5 separate regions of the Homo sapiens genome follow, and regions 1, 2, 3 and 5 are each linked to region 4. Evidence: promoter capture Hi-C in human tissues and cell types (Jung and others, 2019). All regions are on one chromosome and are shown on one strand. The core of a region is centred on a gene start or on the middle of the fragment in contact, and the rest is flanking DNA. Distances in the headings are between cores, read along the strand shown.

The links. Contacts are between HindIII fragments. The study calls those that stand out against the background at their distance.
Region 1: a contact is called between a fragment that was not itself captured here and the fragment with the promoter of INSM1 in region 4, in 3 of the 25 tissues and cell types used here (dorsolateral prefrontal cortex, hippocampus and lymphoblastoid cells).
Region 2: a contact is called between a fragment that was not itself captured here and the fragment with the promoter of INSM1 in region 4, in 2 of the 25 tissues and cell types used here (IMR-90 fibroblasts and mesenchymal stem cells).
Region 3: a contact is called between a fragment that was not itself captured here and the fragment with the promoter of INSM1 in region 4, in 2 of the 25 tissues and cell types used here (mesendoderm cells and thymus).
Region 5: a fragment that was not itself captured here is called in contact with the fragment with the promoter of INSM1 in region 4 in 1 of the 25 tissues and cell types used here (hippocampus).

Annotation. Positions count from the first base shown.
Region 1 is chr20:20,518,440-20,521,176 of GRCh38, reverse strand. It overlaps RALGAPA2 (Ral GTPase activating protein catalytic subunit alpha 2), which reads left to right. Exons shown (of 40, transcript NM_020343.4): 31 at 77-260. Among named protein-coding and RNA genes, the nearest start is that of INSM1, 150 kb to the right of the region's middle. The HindIII fragment of the contact is 6,197 bases long and covers 1-2,737 here.
Region 2 is chr20:20,610,236-20,612,935 of GRCh38, reverse strand. It overlaps RALGAPA2 (Ral GTPase activating protein catalytic subunit alpha 2), which reads left to right. Exons shown (of 40, transcript NM_020343.4): 14 at 1,510-1,621. Among named protein-coding and RNA genes, the nearest start is that of RALGAPA2, 100 kb to the left of the region's middle. The HindIII fragment of the contact is 6,280 bases long and covers 1-2,700 here.
Region 3 is chr20:20,202,401-20,205,100 of GRCh38, reverse strand. All of the region lies in intron 17 of CFAP61 (cilia and flagella associated protein 61), which reads right to left. Among named protein-coding and RNA genes, the nearest start is that of CFAP61-AS1, 64 kb to the left of the region's middle. The HindIII fragment of the contact is 6,572 bases long and covers 1-2,700 here.
Region 4 is chr20:20,366,849-20,369,586 of GRCh38, reverse strand. INSM1 (INSM transcriptional repressor 1) reads right to left here and starts at 1,483. Exons shown (of 1, transcript NM_002196.3): 1 at 1-1,483. The coding sequence starts at 1,319. RefSeq lists an enhancer at 1,620-2,390. The HindIII fragment of the contact is 4,823 bases long and covers 1-2,738 here.
Region 5 is chr20:20,498,157-20,500,856 of GRCh38, reverse strand. All of the region lies in intron 35 of RALGAPA2 (Ral GTPase activating protein catalytic subunit alpha 2), which reads left to right. Among named protein-coding and RNA genes, the nearest start is that of INSM1, 130 kb to the right of the region's middle. The HindIII fragment of the contact is 3,606 bases long and covers 1-2,700 here.

The DNA of each region.
Region 1 (2,737 bases), core at 68-2,567, 150 kb before region 4:
CTGCAGTAGTTTGACAGATTGTCAGGGGACACGCGGTGAGTAGCATCCGTGGTGCACATGGCCTCTGTTTTCACAGGTTTTGCACTGCTGTGTGTGTGGCTCAAGCACGTACACCCAACAGAGTCACTACATACTGACCCTGGCTGACTTGTCATCCACGGATTATGACCCCTTCCTGCCACTGGCAAATGTGAAGAGCTCTGAGCCAGTCCAGTATCATTCATCAGCAGAATTGGGTAACCTGCTGACTGTTGAAGAGGGTGAGTATTCTTTCAGGTATGAAATCTTGTGGGAAGGAAAAGGAAGGATTTAGCCTTTAGCCATGCTTGCTCTATTTTTTTTTAATCTAGTTGTTGAAGTTGAAATCCTAGTTCCTGGAGTCCTCTGTGATGGCAAATTCTGCCTTCCTTGTTTCTTCTTTTTTTCTCCTCTGTTTTCCCATTTTAGTAGTTCAAATGGTTTTTGTATTATTGAAGACAGGTATGTCTCAAATCCATGGAACTCACAAAAAAGGCTCATTTTCTATCCTCAAGGAGCTTTACATCTAATGGAAAACACACAGTGAAGTCCAGAAGGACTCACTGTGGACTGGTAGCACCATGAGGGCTTTCCATGAAGAAGGACTTAAGCCAGACTTAGCAGGGTGGGCAGGTGTTGAAAGGAGCTCATAGATTGTTCCAAGTTAGGAGAGCATCATAAAAAGAGATGGAAATTTACTTGCTACAGTTTTAGATTTGCTCTGCTCATAGCAGAGAGTCCATTTCAGAGCATATAGGGATTGTCAGGACTTAGAGCCTGCTGTATTTCTTACTTAAGCACCCCTCTCCCCAGAATGATAAGAGCCCAGCTTTGGGCCTTGGAATGGGAGTAGAATGTGGGTATACTGTCTATACATATGATAAAATTGCATAGAACCAAACACACACACACACACAAATGCATGCATGTAAAACTGGTGAACACTGAGTAATATAGATGGATTATTATCAATGTCAACTTCCTGACTGTGATATTGTCCTATAGGTATGCAAGATGTTACCCTGAGATGAAAGGTATTTGAGGTCTCTCTGTATTACTGCTTACAACTGCATGTGAATCTTCAGTTGTCTCAACACTAAAAATTAGAAGAAGGCCAAGCATCATGGCTCCCACCTGTAATCCCGTCACTTTGGGAGGCCAAGGCGAGCAGATCACTTGAGCACAGGACCACTTGAGTCTGTGAGGTCAAGGCTGCTGTGATCAGCGCCACTGCACTCTAGCTTGAGCGACAGAGTGAGACTCTATCTTAAAAAAAAAAAAATTAAAGAGATGTAGGTGTGAAGTGTTAGATCATCCATGAAAATTGTATGGACTTCACAAGTTAAAAACCTAGGCCCAAGACTAGAACCTTGTGGGCAGAAACATCCTTAAGGACAGCAGAGTGAGGGAATGTCACCAGGAAAGCAAAGTCAGGGAAGTGGAAAGAGGACCAAGAAAGAGTCATTTCTAGCAAGTCAAGGAAGAAAGCAAATAAGAAGTTGAGAAAGGTCAGCAGTGCTAGTTGCTTCAGAAAGCTTAGGGAAGGTGAGAATGAAACAGGAGCTGTTATATTTCCCAACTAGGTGTTTGGTGGTAGGTTTTGCCAGAGCACTTTCACCAGAGTGGTGGGTCCAGCCAGATAACATGAGCAGGTGACCTGTGCAGTGACAGTCAGATCCCTGAGTCAGACTCCTTTTGTGAGGCCCTTAGTGGAAGGAGGAAGGACACAGCAGGCAGTGGCTGGGTGAGGGAGGACAAAGGTCCAGGGGTATGCTTGCAGCACTACAGAGTCTGGAGCAAGGTTCAAGCTGACATGAAGGGGAAGGTGAGATGAGGATGAAAAAGACAGGACTGGGGGTGACAGTCATGAGCAAGGGCTTAAAATCTAGCAGTCCTGATTTTAGCTGCATTTTGTAGATGAGCAAACTGAGGTTAAGGGATATTCCCAGGGGTGTGTACAAGTCAGAAGTAAGGGAGGTGGAATTTGAACCTAAGATTTAATGACCAAGTTCCTAAAATGCATTATTTACTCTGAAAGTTTTGACGTGGAGTAGACTTAACACTCTTGTTTTGAGTTGTGTTGGTGGTGGATGGTACATGGTTCATTTTCATGTTGTTTTCTTGATTTGTTCTCCATTTATTTAATCATTTAATTGTTTATTTCTGGAGCTCCACTGTCAACTGCAATGTCTGCTTTACTTTTTCCCCCACAATGATAAATTATTTTTATTAAGTAATTGAAACAACTCTTAATCTATTTCGTTGTTCCCTACTGTAAGTTCATATGTCTTATAATAAAATTAACTTGTTTTTTCCTAAAGTCATCAATTTATACTCATCCACATGAGTATATCCCCAAAACATGGCTATCCCTAAAATAGGTTCACCATTTATTATGAGTTGTCACTTAAAAATAGCAGAAGATAAATAGGTTATTGAAAAAGGAAAAACCTAAAAATATACATTTAAATTCTGGCACCATTTTTCTTTCAGTGTACAATACTCTTTGGGAAACATTCCCAAGATAGTTCTAAAGTACTAAAAATAATTGCTTAAACTTCTCTGACAAAGGAGTTTTTAAAATTCACTGACATATTAACTAAGCAAATAGGCAAGATGCTTAAAAACATATTGGTGTGCACGTCCTTGCCAAGCGGATACATCATATAGAAAGTGAAAAGGAAAAATAAAGGTGATAGCGTGGGTATTTTAGGTTAAG
Region 2 (2,700 bases), core at 55-2,554, 240 kb before region 4:
CACATTCTCATGATGGATCTGTAACTAGTTGTGTGTAAGGGATTGTTTTTCATTGTCTTATGCATCATGTAACATGAATGGGCAGTGGTGATACTAGGTGCTGCCCTTCTCTGCCCTGGCGACAGGGGCCTGGGTACCCTGAATGTGATGAGCGACAAGCTGTCCCCCAGCACTGTGCCATTGCTTCTCCCAGTTCTCTTCAAAGTCACCATCCTGCTTCAGCGTGTGTGCCCAGAAGATAGCCCTTCCTCTTCTGTGCTTCCAGAATCCGTAGGCAGGGAATAGGAATACATGGACAAGTAGCATGCAGTGCAGTGAGAATGTATAACAACAGATGACTCTGGGGACCAAAATCAAATGGGGCCAGCTACAAAGAGGGCAGGAAATCCCCACAGGTGATTTTACTGTGAGGAATTTTATGAGGTTCAGCATCATATATTGTTAGGAGAAAATGCTGTTTTGATAAGCAGAGATATGAGAAAAGTAAACGGGAACTATGATTTAGAGATCTCATCTGATTACTTTGTCCTATTCTCAGTTTTATTACTAAAGAGCAGTAAAGCCAAGGAGAAAGTAGTAAAGATTAGATGAATGGTTAGCATGTGAAACCTGAAAGGAACCAGAGTGATTTCCCTCGAGGAACAAATGCACTTCTCTTACATATGAAAGATGATGTGTTCTGTGTTCCCATAGAATCTAGGGAAAGAAAAAGTGAGCAGATACTCTGATATGAGCAATATAACTTAGGTGTAAGAAAGAAAAATGTCTTTTGGCTGTTCTGAAGAACTTATTATTGTAATTAGCAGTGTTATGTTGTCTCTGTACTATTTTATAGTCTTCAAAGTCCTTTTACATAAACCTTCTGTAAGAGACTATGAAAAATGCTGGCACATTGGAACTGAGCTGCAGTGATGGCATTTGTCTCAGTTGTGCCCTGTAGTGCAGAGTCAGGATCTTCCAGACATGAGCACTGTGCCTGTAAGTGTCCTGTAATGCAAACCCCTCCTGCCTGTGAGAGTACTGTGGCATTCCACCTTACCAAGATACTGACTGTGTGTGTCCCCAAAATAAAGGCCAGAAAGTCAGCTTCACCTCCTGTTGCAATGAGAGGGAGACCTTACAGGTTAAGTAAAACAGTGGATAGCAAAATTAAAGAGTGCTGCATATGTTCCAGTAGGTTTTCACTGAGTACCTTTAAGCTGCTGGCACAGTTGGAGAAGACGATCTTGCCTCTCTTTTTGCAAGGGGAGAAAATCAGGCTGGAATGATGTTTTATCCTGCCTGTTTGTGTGGACATGGGAGGCATGTTTTTAAAACTGTTATAACATAAGGGAGCTTATTTTGGTAAAATATGGTATTCATTATGTAATTGGCATCTGGACTTTAATAGTTTCGAGTAATACATAATTATCAATGTTGCTGAATTCTTAAGAGAATTTCTGGTACCTATAAATTAAAGTGCTTTGGAGACATGATTATTAATATGAGCTTTTATTTTGGGTGGCCCAGGGAACAGATGTTGCAAATACTACTCAGGATAACAGAAGCTGTCATGCAGAAGCCAAAGGATAAACAAATAAAGGACTTGTTTGCCCAGAGCTTGGCAGGGTTACTATTTAGGGTAAGTCTTTTTTATGAAAGCACTGCAAATGCAAGAAATGAATCAGATTTTGTAGCAAACTAGTTTTAATCATTGAGAATTTTAAAAATAATATTAAATTTAAATTTCTAGAAATTTTTCTTCTTAGCTTTGTCCTGAAGGTTATGATCTGTTCTTTACAATTAGTGCTGGGCTTTTAGGCTTTTCTCCCTCTCTGCTACCTACTTCCTCTTTTAATTTGCTCAAGGGTGGTAGGAATTAGGAAGCTCTGATGGCCTTGGTGGAAGGCTAGGTAGATTTGGAGAGGTAAAGGATGAACGAAAGTATGGGAATGGGATAAAACTTTGAGAGCCATCAGTGTGTTGGGCAATTGTATTTAAAGCCACAGGATGGGCTTACCTAGAGAGGACAATGTCCACAGGTGATGGGAGAGATGCTGAGAAAGGGTGGCCAGTGAGTGAGGAGGAAAACCAGAGGAGTGTGTATCCTGGGTGCCTGGGGATGAGTATTGGGTAGGAGGAGAGCAGCCAGTTGACCATGGGCTTTGACAGATGTAGTTGGTTGAGAATGTTCTATGGGATGAGTCCCACCTGGAGTAGATGGAGGAGAAAATGAGAGCTGGGCAGTGGAAGTTGCAAGTGTAGTTAAGGCTTTGCAGAGTTCTTGCTGTGGAAAGGAAGAGGAAAAGGGGAGCTAGCTGAAGTCGGTGGCATACATGGTGGGCGAGGTTTAAGGTGGGTGGTACTAAAGTATGTTTGCTCACCAATGGGATGGTCCAGTGAGGGAGGACAAGATGGTCTTGGGGAGACAGAGGATAAGTGAGGTCCCGGATATGGTGGAGGGCTGGGCCGGTCTTTGGTGCGAGCAGAGAGCCAAAGAGATGCCTGTGCTTCTTGCATCTCATGTGGTGAGCAGGTGAAGACCAAGAGCAGGCTGATACCTGGTGAGCTGCCTGGGGAACAGATGTGCCAGAGAGTCCTGAGCATGGCAGCCTACTGTGATGTTGCTAATATTTATGAGGACCTTAGAGTTTATGAAGCATTACTGAAAGTGAACAGTGTGAAAGGGCTCTGGAAAAATGCTACATTCTACATAAATAA
Region 3 (2,700 bases), core at 31-2,530, 160 kb after region 4:
TATAATAGACACTTATATAATATATAACATATTATATTAAACTAGACAATGTTCAGAGAATTGGAAAGAAATGGCCACAGAACTTGTATTGTAGAAAGAAGAAAGCCCATAAAGGAACTTATGTAAATGATCCCAAGAATCTGAGAGAAAAGAGTTCACTATAAGTAGAAGGAAATGCACTTCTCATAGATAGTGTAAACACATAGGAACTGGCTGGGAAGTGGCTTGAAGCAGCAAACTGGACTCATGGCGATGATTTAAAGTGGGTTAATTTCATTTCAAGAAAATATGCCTCCCATCGTCACATTAATAATGATTAGAGCATATATGATGCTGAAAAAATACAGGTCTGCCTTTTTAGAAACCTCTACCAAGGTGATGGCCAAAGAGCTAAAAACACACCACATACCCCGACCACAAATATAACCAAGGGAAGTCTAACCACTGGCGGTGAAAGTTACCAAGTTTAAGGAAGGGGCTGGGAAACAATAAAGCTGGGGAAAATCTAGCAGGTGCTGGGAGAATAATGCAATTTCCTAGGGCAGCAGATGCACAAGTGAAACAGTATCCAGTAACAGTCCATCAGATGGTAATTATAGCTGGACTGGGAAGAACAGCCAGATGAAAAGGGGCAATTCAAAGGGTAACTGAATGCCAGTGAGTGACATCTTCCTGAGAGATCACATACCAGGAAAAAGCAGGGCCATCACTTAGCTCTGAGGGGGAGGGGCTCCATAAGCCGTCATTTTTCTTTGTAGAAGGACAAAGAAAAAATGTGGAGAAATGAATGCACAGAATCCAAATGGAGGCCTCCAAAGAATTCATTAGTTGAGATTTAATCAGACCATCATTAATAAGCAACCAGAAAAAAACAAGATCACTCTGAAAGTATGATTGCTCAGGAAGGATGAAGGGTTGATTTAGTTCTGAAAATAACTGAGAGAGAGGTGAGTTCACGCTACAATTCTATGAACACAATAAACCAAGATGAAGAGCTGAAGTGACTGAAGTGGATGATGGGGAGCAACTATTGACATTGAGGCAATGGGAGGGGCTCTTTAAGTTCAAAGCAGGTTTTCTGGAGTGTAATATGACAAATAACAGTTGTGTAAACTCCCATTCCTGGAAAGGAAGCAGTGCCTTTTTCTCAAACACATTCCCTCTCCAGGAATTCTGCAGAAACAGGTCTGAGCCCAGTGTGGCTATTTCTCCTGAGTTTGGGCTCGTGTCACCTAGGAGGCCAGTACAAGCCCTCATCTACCCCCATTTAATACTGAAACTAGACTGGAAGCTCCATGCAGGCATGGATGGTGACACAGTCATATCTGAATCCCTATAAAAGGCAGAAAGGAAAGAAAACAGGTTTGTATGTAGACCCACCCTCAAAATAAGTGTAAGGCAGCTTGTTCGGCTGTCTTTAATCAATATAACCACTAAATTAATTCAGCCCAATTTTGAGTGTTTTCCTGATCATAATACTCATTCAGGATAAATACTTGAGGGGATGGATGGATACCCCATTTTACATGATGTGATTATTACTCATTGCATGCCTGTATCAAAATATCTCATGTACCCTATAAACATCGATACCTACTGTGTACCAACAAAAACTAAAAATTAAAGAAATAAAATAATTTTGTAAAAAATAATAATTCTTATGCAGGCAGGCCCTGACGAGTCATCTAATAAAAACTTCCATGAGAGTAACTCTCCTAATGTAAAAGCACAGGCCAAGATGGCTCATTCAAGCTCAGAAAAGAATCTTTCAGGTCTATGATGTCAATTACGGTCTTGGTCAGGAAAAAGCCCTCTCTCTTACCCATGCATTCACACTGGTTGACTGTGGAGACATTACTATGAATCTTTGAGGCCTGATTCTGAAATGTGTGATGAAAATCATTTATGTTTTCTAGGCTCTTTTTTATGACCTGCTGCGGGGTAGGCTGTCAATTAATAGAAACGACGGGGAAGGTGTTGTGGCCGGGACACTGATCGTCCAAACCAGGCAGGAATTAGGAAGGCCTTGGGGTGGGAGCGAGGGCATATTTCCCTGCCATGCAGTGATGAATTTCAATCACTGCTTCCTTGTGCCAGATTCAAATTGGCAACCTACCGAGATGAAATGCTTTCTATCCCATTACTCATGCCTGGAGTGATCTGTTCCCTTGAAGATTGGCTTCCTAGGTGAAAGGTAGGGACTGGATGGTCACTCTAAGATGCTTTAAATAGGATAAAAGGTATGAAAGACGAGTGGCCAGCAAGAGAAATGATATGGACATGGTGAGGGAGCTGAGGGTCTCATATAAAGCTTGATGCACTGGGAGGGGTTGTGGCGGGGGGGCGGTGGGAGATGTGAAACCTAAAGGGAAAATTCATTCATTTGGTAATGACAGTTGCTCAGCCTTGCACAGTTTGCTACTGCAATGCTATTGCTCTACTAAGAAAACAATGTCTTGAGGGCTATACTGAGATTCCTCCTAAAAATATTCTACTTGGCTCAACTTGTGTCAGATAATCACTCTAAAACATTAAAACTGTCTAAAATGTTAAAAAGAGAAAAATAATTTTAATAATATAATTTAGCATTTTAACTTTTTAATACCGAGGCCCATTCCATGGGGATTATGGTCTCGATAAATAATCCTGTGATTAAACTTTTAATATGTCTAAAATTTTTCACTGAATCTTGTTTACTAA
Region 4 (2,738 bases), core at 234-2,733:
CACTCGGCGGACGCACTCAGGCCCAGCACGCCGGCCCCCTCGCCGTCGCCGGCCGCCTCCTGGGGCGCCTTCTCGTCGGGCCCGGGGTACAAGGCCAGTAGGTCCTCGGCCGGGGGCGCTAGCGGCGCGCCCTTGGCCTGCAGCGCCTGGTGGTGCGCCAGCAGGTGCTTGCGTAGGTAGGCCTGGCGGCGGAACTTCTTGGCGCAGTGATGGCACTCGTAGAGCCCGTCCTCGGAGCCCGACTCGGACACGCCGCCGGGGCTCGGCGTGTCCCGGTCGCTGCCGCCGCCGGGTGCCTCCCGCGCCTCAGCCCTGGCTGCTGCTTCTGGCTCCGGCGCGCGGGCGGCGGCGGGCGCGGGCCGCGGTTTGTGCCAGCGGCGGTGCGAGGCCAGGTTGGCCGGGCAGCTGAAGACCTTGGCGCACTCGGGACAGCGGTACTCCACACGCACGATGCGCGAGCATTTGTGCTGCGCCAGCGCGAACGGGTCGGCGTACTCCTCCTTGCACAGCTGGCAGATGAACTCGCCCAGCGGCCGCGCCGCGCCCCCCGCGCGGCCCCGCGGCGCCTCCACCGGGCCCTCCTTGATCTTGAGCCCCAGCACGGGCGACGTGGTCACCTCGTCCTCGAAGTGCAGCTTGCGGATGGCCTTGGGCTTCTTGGCGCCCGGGGCCTTGACTGCCTTGGCGGGCGGCTCCGCGGCGGTAGGGGGCGGGGGCCGCTTTCCCGGGGGCCGCAGGGCGGCGGCAGGGGGCAGTGGGGGGCCGGGGCCCGGGCCGCGGGCCGCCTCGGCGCCAGCCGAGAACGCCGTGCCCATCTTGAGCTCGGCGGGCGCGAAGAGCAGCGGGTCGCCGCCGCAGGTGCCGCCTCCGCCAGCTCCGCTCGCGCCGCCGCCGCCGCCCCCTCCGAGCAGCGCGGCGGGCGTGGGGAAGGACTCGGCCGAGACCGGCGAGCCCAGGTTGAAGCTGCGTTCGAAGTACTTGTGCTTCTCGTGCTCGCGGCTCACGGGCCGCGTGGGACTGTAGAGCGGCGCGGGGTGCGCAGCCTCGGGGTTGCCGAAGTGCGCGGCCCGCGGGCCCTGCGGGGGTGGCTGCGGCCCAGGCGCGCAGGCAAGCGCGGCGGCGAGCGCTGCATGGGCGCGCTCCGCGGGCGGCGGCGGCGGCAGCGGCCCGGGGACCGGGCTCGGCGCCGGGGGCTCGGCGCGGGCGCCCCCGCAGCTGGGCGAGAGCAGCAGTGCGCGGTCGCCGTCCTCGCCGCCGCGGACCCGGTAGGAAACGGGCGTGGACTTCTTGCTGCGCTTCACCAGGAAGCCGCGGGGCATGTTGGCGCGGCCCGAGGGCACGGCACTGGCTCGGTCCCCCCTCCGCGCTCGGCCCCGGCGGCCCTCAGTGCCCCCGGCCCATTGCCCGGGCGCGGCGGCTGCGGGACTCGCGTGGCGCCGGCGACGGCTCGGCCCAGCTCTGCGCCCTGCACGCGCGTCCCTGTCCCCGGGCCCGGCAGCCGCTCCCTTTTAACGGGGGGAGGGGGCCATTGTTCTCGCCTCCCGCTTCCCCTGGAGCCAATCAGCGCGTCCGCAGCTCCTCAGCCTGGCAGGGTGGGAGGGCGATGGGGCGGCCAAAAGGGGGCCGGGACTCGGGGGTCGCCCGGTAGGTGCGGCAGATGTACCTGAGGGCGCGGGGCCCCCGCGCGCGCCCCTGGTCGCCCCGCCCGGCGCCGCCGCCCCGCCCGGTCCAGGCACACGCCCGGCCCCGCCTCCCTTCACGGTCTGCTGCTTCTCTATGGGGAGGCGCACGTGCCTGGGCTTTGTGTCTCTCCTCCGGGGGGCGCGGAGCCGCCAAATGGGCCCGTCCATCAGCGCGACAATGCACGCCCCCCTCCCGCGCGGGGATTACCCGCGGGTCGCTAGCAAAATAGCAACAAAGGAGAAGAATGGCCCCAAATATGTCAGGAGGGTTCAATCCGCGAGCCGGAGCCGAGGGGGAAGTTGTGCGCGCTGATTGGGTGGGGGCGGGGGCGCGCCGGGGCGGTGCGGGGGAGATCGTTGCGGAGGCGCAGTGGCTCCGCGTGGTGTTTGGGAAATAAACAAGAATCCGAGAGAGCAGCAGGGTCCGGACGGCCTCCGCCCGGACCTTGGACGGATGGGCCGCTGGACCCAAGAGGCCAAGCAAAAGGGTTCCCCGGGGTTCCAAGTGTGGACAGGGGGCCCGGCCTTCTGGCAGTGGCCGAGGGCGATGTTTGTGCTCGCAGCCTCCGCGCGCCCACGGGGCTAGAGAAGGTTTCTTTCGAGTTTGAGAAGGAATTGGCACGGCCTTCTCAGTCTCCCGAAAGCGCGGGATTGGAGCGCGGGCGGGCTGGGCTGGGTTCCCAGAGGAACGTGAATTTCTGAACTTTTGGGTTCTTGGAGGCTTGGGAATGGCATCTTTGGCGGGGCCCGACCCAGGCCGCCCGGAGCTTCCGCGTGGTCCAAGGCTCGGTTAATCCGGGTCGAGTTGGCCGAAGCCCGAAACGCGCGGTCGGCCTCGTGCGCCCCAGTGAAGTTGGCTTTCTCCTCCCCGCGCGGCCTCATGCATTTTCATTCCGAGCGGGCATTTTGTTTGCCGGTTGACATCAGATGCTAAATCAAGGGCTCCAATCAAGGCGCTGCGAAATAAAGGGGCTGCCTGTCTGGGCGCAGCCCCCACGGAGCCGTGCCCCCTTCACCTTTGTGAAGGAAATTAACCTCCTGCTATTGAGCTCCGGT
Region 5 (2,700 bases), core at 88-2,587, 130 kb before region 4:
TGCAACCCACAGATCAAGGAGTAATTTCAACTTTCAAGTCTTACTATTTAAGAACTTTCATAAGGCTATGGCTGTCATAGGGAGTGAGTTCTCTGATGGATCTGGCAAAGACCATTGAAAACCTTCTGGAATGGATTCACCATTCTAGATGCCATTAGGAACATTCGTGATTCATGGGAACAGATCAAGATATCAAGATTCACAGGAGTTTGGATAGAGTCCCACCCTCATGGATGACTTTAAAAGATTCAAGACTTCAGTGAAGGAAGTCACTGCACATTTAGCAGAAATAGCAAGAGAACTAGAATTAGAAGTGGAGACTGAAGATGTAGCTGAATTACTGCAATGTCATGATAAAATTTGACTGGATGAAAAGTTGCTTCTTATGGATAAGCAAAGAAAGTGGGTTTCTTGAGAAGGAATCTGTTCTCAGTGATGATGCTATGAACATTGTTGAAATTACAACAAAAGATTTAGAATATTCCATAAATTTAATTGGTAAAGCAGTGACAGGGTTTGAAAATATTACTCCAATTTCAAAAGAAGTTCTACTGTGGGCAAAATGCTGTCAGACACCATCACATGCTACAGAGAAATCTTTCATGAAAGGAAGAGTCAATCAATGTGGCAATTTCATTATCTTACCTTAAGAAATTGCCACAGCCACCCCAGCCTTCAGCAACTGCCACCCTGATCAATCAGCAACCAACAACATCAAGGCAAAACCCTGTACCAGCAAAAAAAGACTACAACTCACTGAAGGCTCAGATAATCATTAGCATTTTTTAGCAATAAAATTTTTTTATTAATATACATATGGTAAGAAATAATGCTATTGCACATTTAATAGACTATAGTAAACATAAGTTTTATGCACACTGCTTTCCCAGTGCACACAAAAGTTTATATGATTTGCTTTATTGCAATATCTGTATTTGCAATATCTAAAAAACCTATTGCGGATATGTCTGAAACCAAGCCTATAATATCTCTGAGGTGTGCCTGTATATGATGGGCAGCAGTGCATGTGAAACATCAGAACTCAAGTCATGGCCCAATTACAGACAACTTCCGTAGTGATCAAGTGTCTCAGATGTAGAAAGTACAATTTGCGTTCAAAAACTCAGCAGCCTTTCCCTCTCCTGCCCCAGCATGCTATAATGACCTCCTGGGGGTGGCAGTACTACAGCCAGAAGCGCTGACCACGTGCTGGTTCCCACACGTCTTGGAGGAGCTGCCTCAGTGTTGGGTTTTGATGGCTGCCCCTGGCTGTAGAGCTCTCAGCAAAGGGAACTCTGCCCTCCAAGAATTCACCAGGATCTCAGACTCTAGTGTAGCTTACCAGGATCCTAAGCTGGGCTCACACATCTTTTTTATTTGCAGTACATTGTAAATTGTTTCTGCTTTGCAAATGTGTCACCATATTCTATAATTTTCTTATGACTGAGAATTATTTTGTTAAAAGATAAAATTTATATATAAAATATTTTTTAAATTATTTCTTAAGTAAAGTAGGACTGTTTTTTCTTTTTTGAGAAAAGACATGTTTTCTTGATAAAATGCCAAGCTGTAAATAATGTTCTAAGACTTGGCCTGGTTGAATGATTCCCTACTGTAATAATCAAAATTCAGCTGATACCTTTTGCAGCTGTAAGGTTTAGCATCATTAGTGATAAACTCTCTTTATCAGATGTCTCACAGCTAGACTAAAAATCAGTCACAGTAACAGCAGCCCACAGTTCCTTGTCTTATTCTAACTAAATTGTCCCTAACAGCTTAAAAATGAGCTGCAAAATTCTAAAGTGATTCATGCTCTCTTCTGCCCCCATCATGGGGGGACTTTTTCAATTCTGCAATCCAGTTGCAACCCCATACTGAACTCTTGATCCTTCACTGCAGAAATTTGTTAGCTCTAGCTAGATTAGATTTTTCACAGCTAATCTAACTGCTGTAGGGGTTTGCAGAGTGGGGACAGAGCTGTGCTATTGGATTTGTCCAATTCATTTGACTCCAGGACTATAATTGCACTTATGTCTTACAAGGCTTTTATAGCCTCAGGCTGGCCAGCCACATAAAAAACAAATTGGCAGTGATACAGTACGAGTGAAAAGGGATGAAAGGCCCACATTATCAGTCTCCAGGCAGCGCTGTTCTGGCAGGAAGTTTCTTGGTTAATTTACAAATAAAACTTAGATTTTAGGATGGGCACACTGTCAGCTGAACAATGGGGATGTCAGGCCTGACTGTTACTTAGTAAAAGTAGCAGCCGGGCCCACTGAGGAGCAGGAATTCTTCAATCAAACAGACGACTCCTTCTGGAGCCAGCTGGCGATGTAATGCAATTAGTCGAGAAAGGAGGTCAGCCTATTAGGTGTGTACCATGACCGGTGTCACCAGTGGCGTGCAGCCTGGCAGCAGCAACAGACAGAATGGCTTAGGCAAAGGGACTTTAAAACTCTGTTAGGATGAAAAGTTGTGGGTCCGGGATTGATTTCTTAAGACTTAAAATCTGAGCATTTGTTCTGAGCCTGATAAGTATCCAGCCATTGTGGAGCCTGTTGTGCAGTTGAAGGAGTAGCTAACATAAACACCGGCTCCATTCCAGAAGGAGACTCATCATTCTTCCCCAGTTACACAGGAACCAGATCAACTTGACTTGTGTGCACTCACCGAACTCACTGATGGGTTTCTAATTTGAGG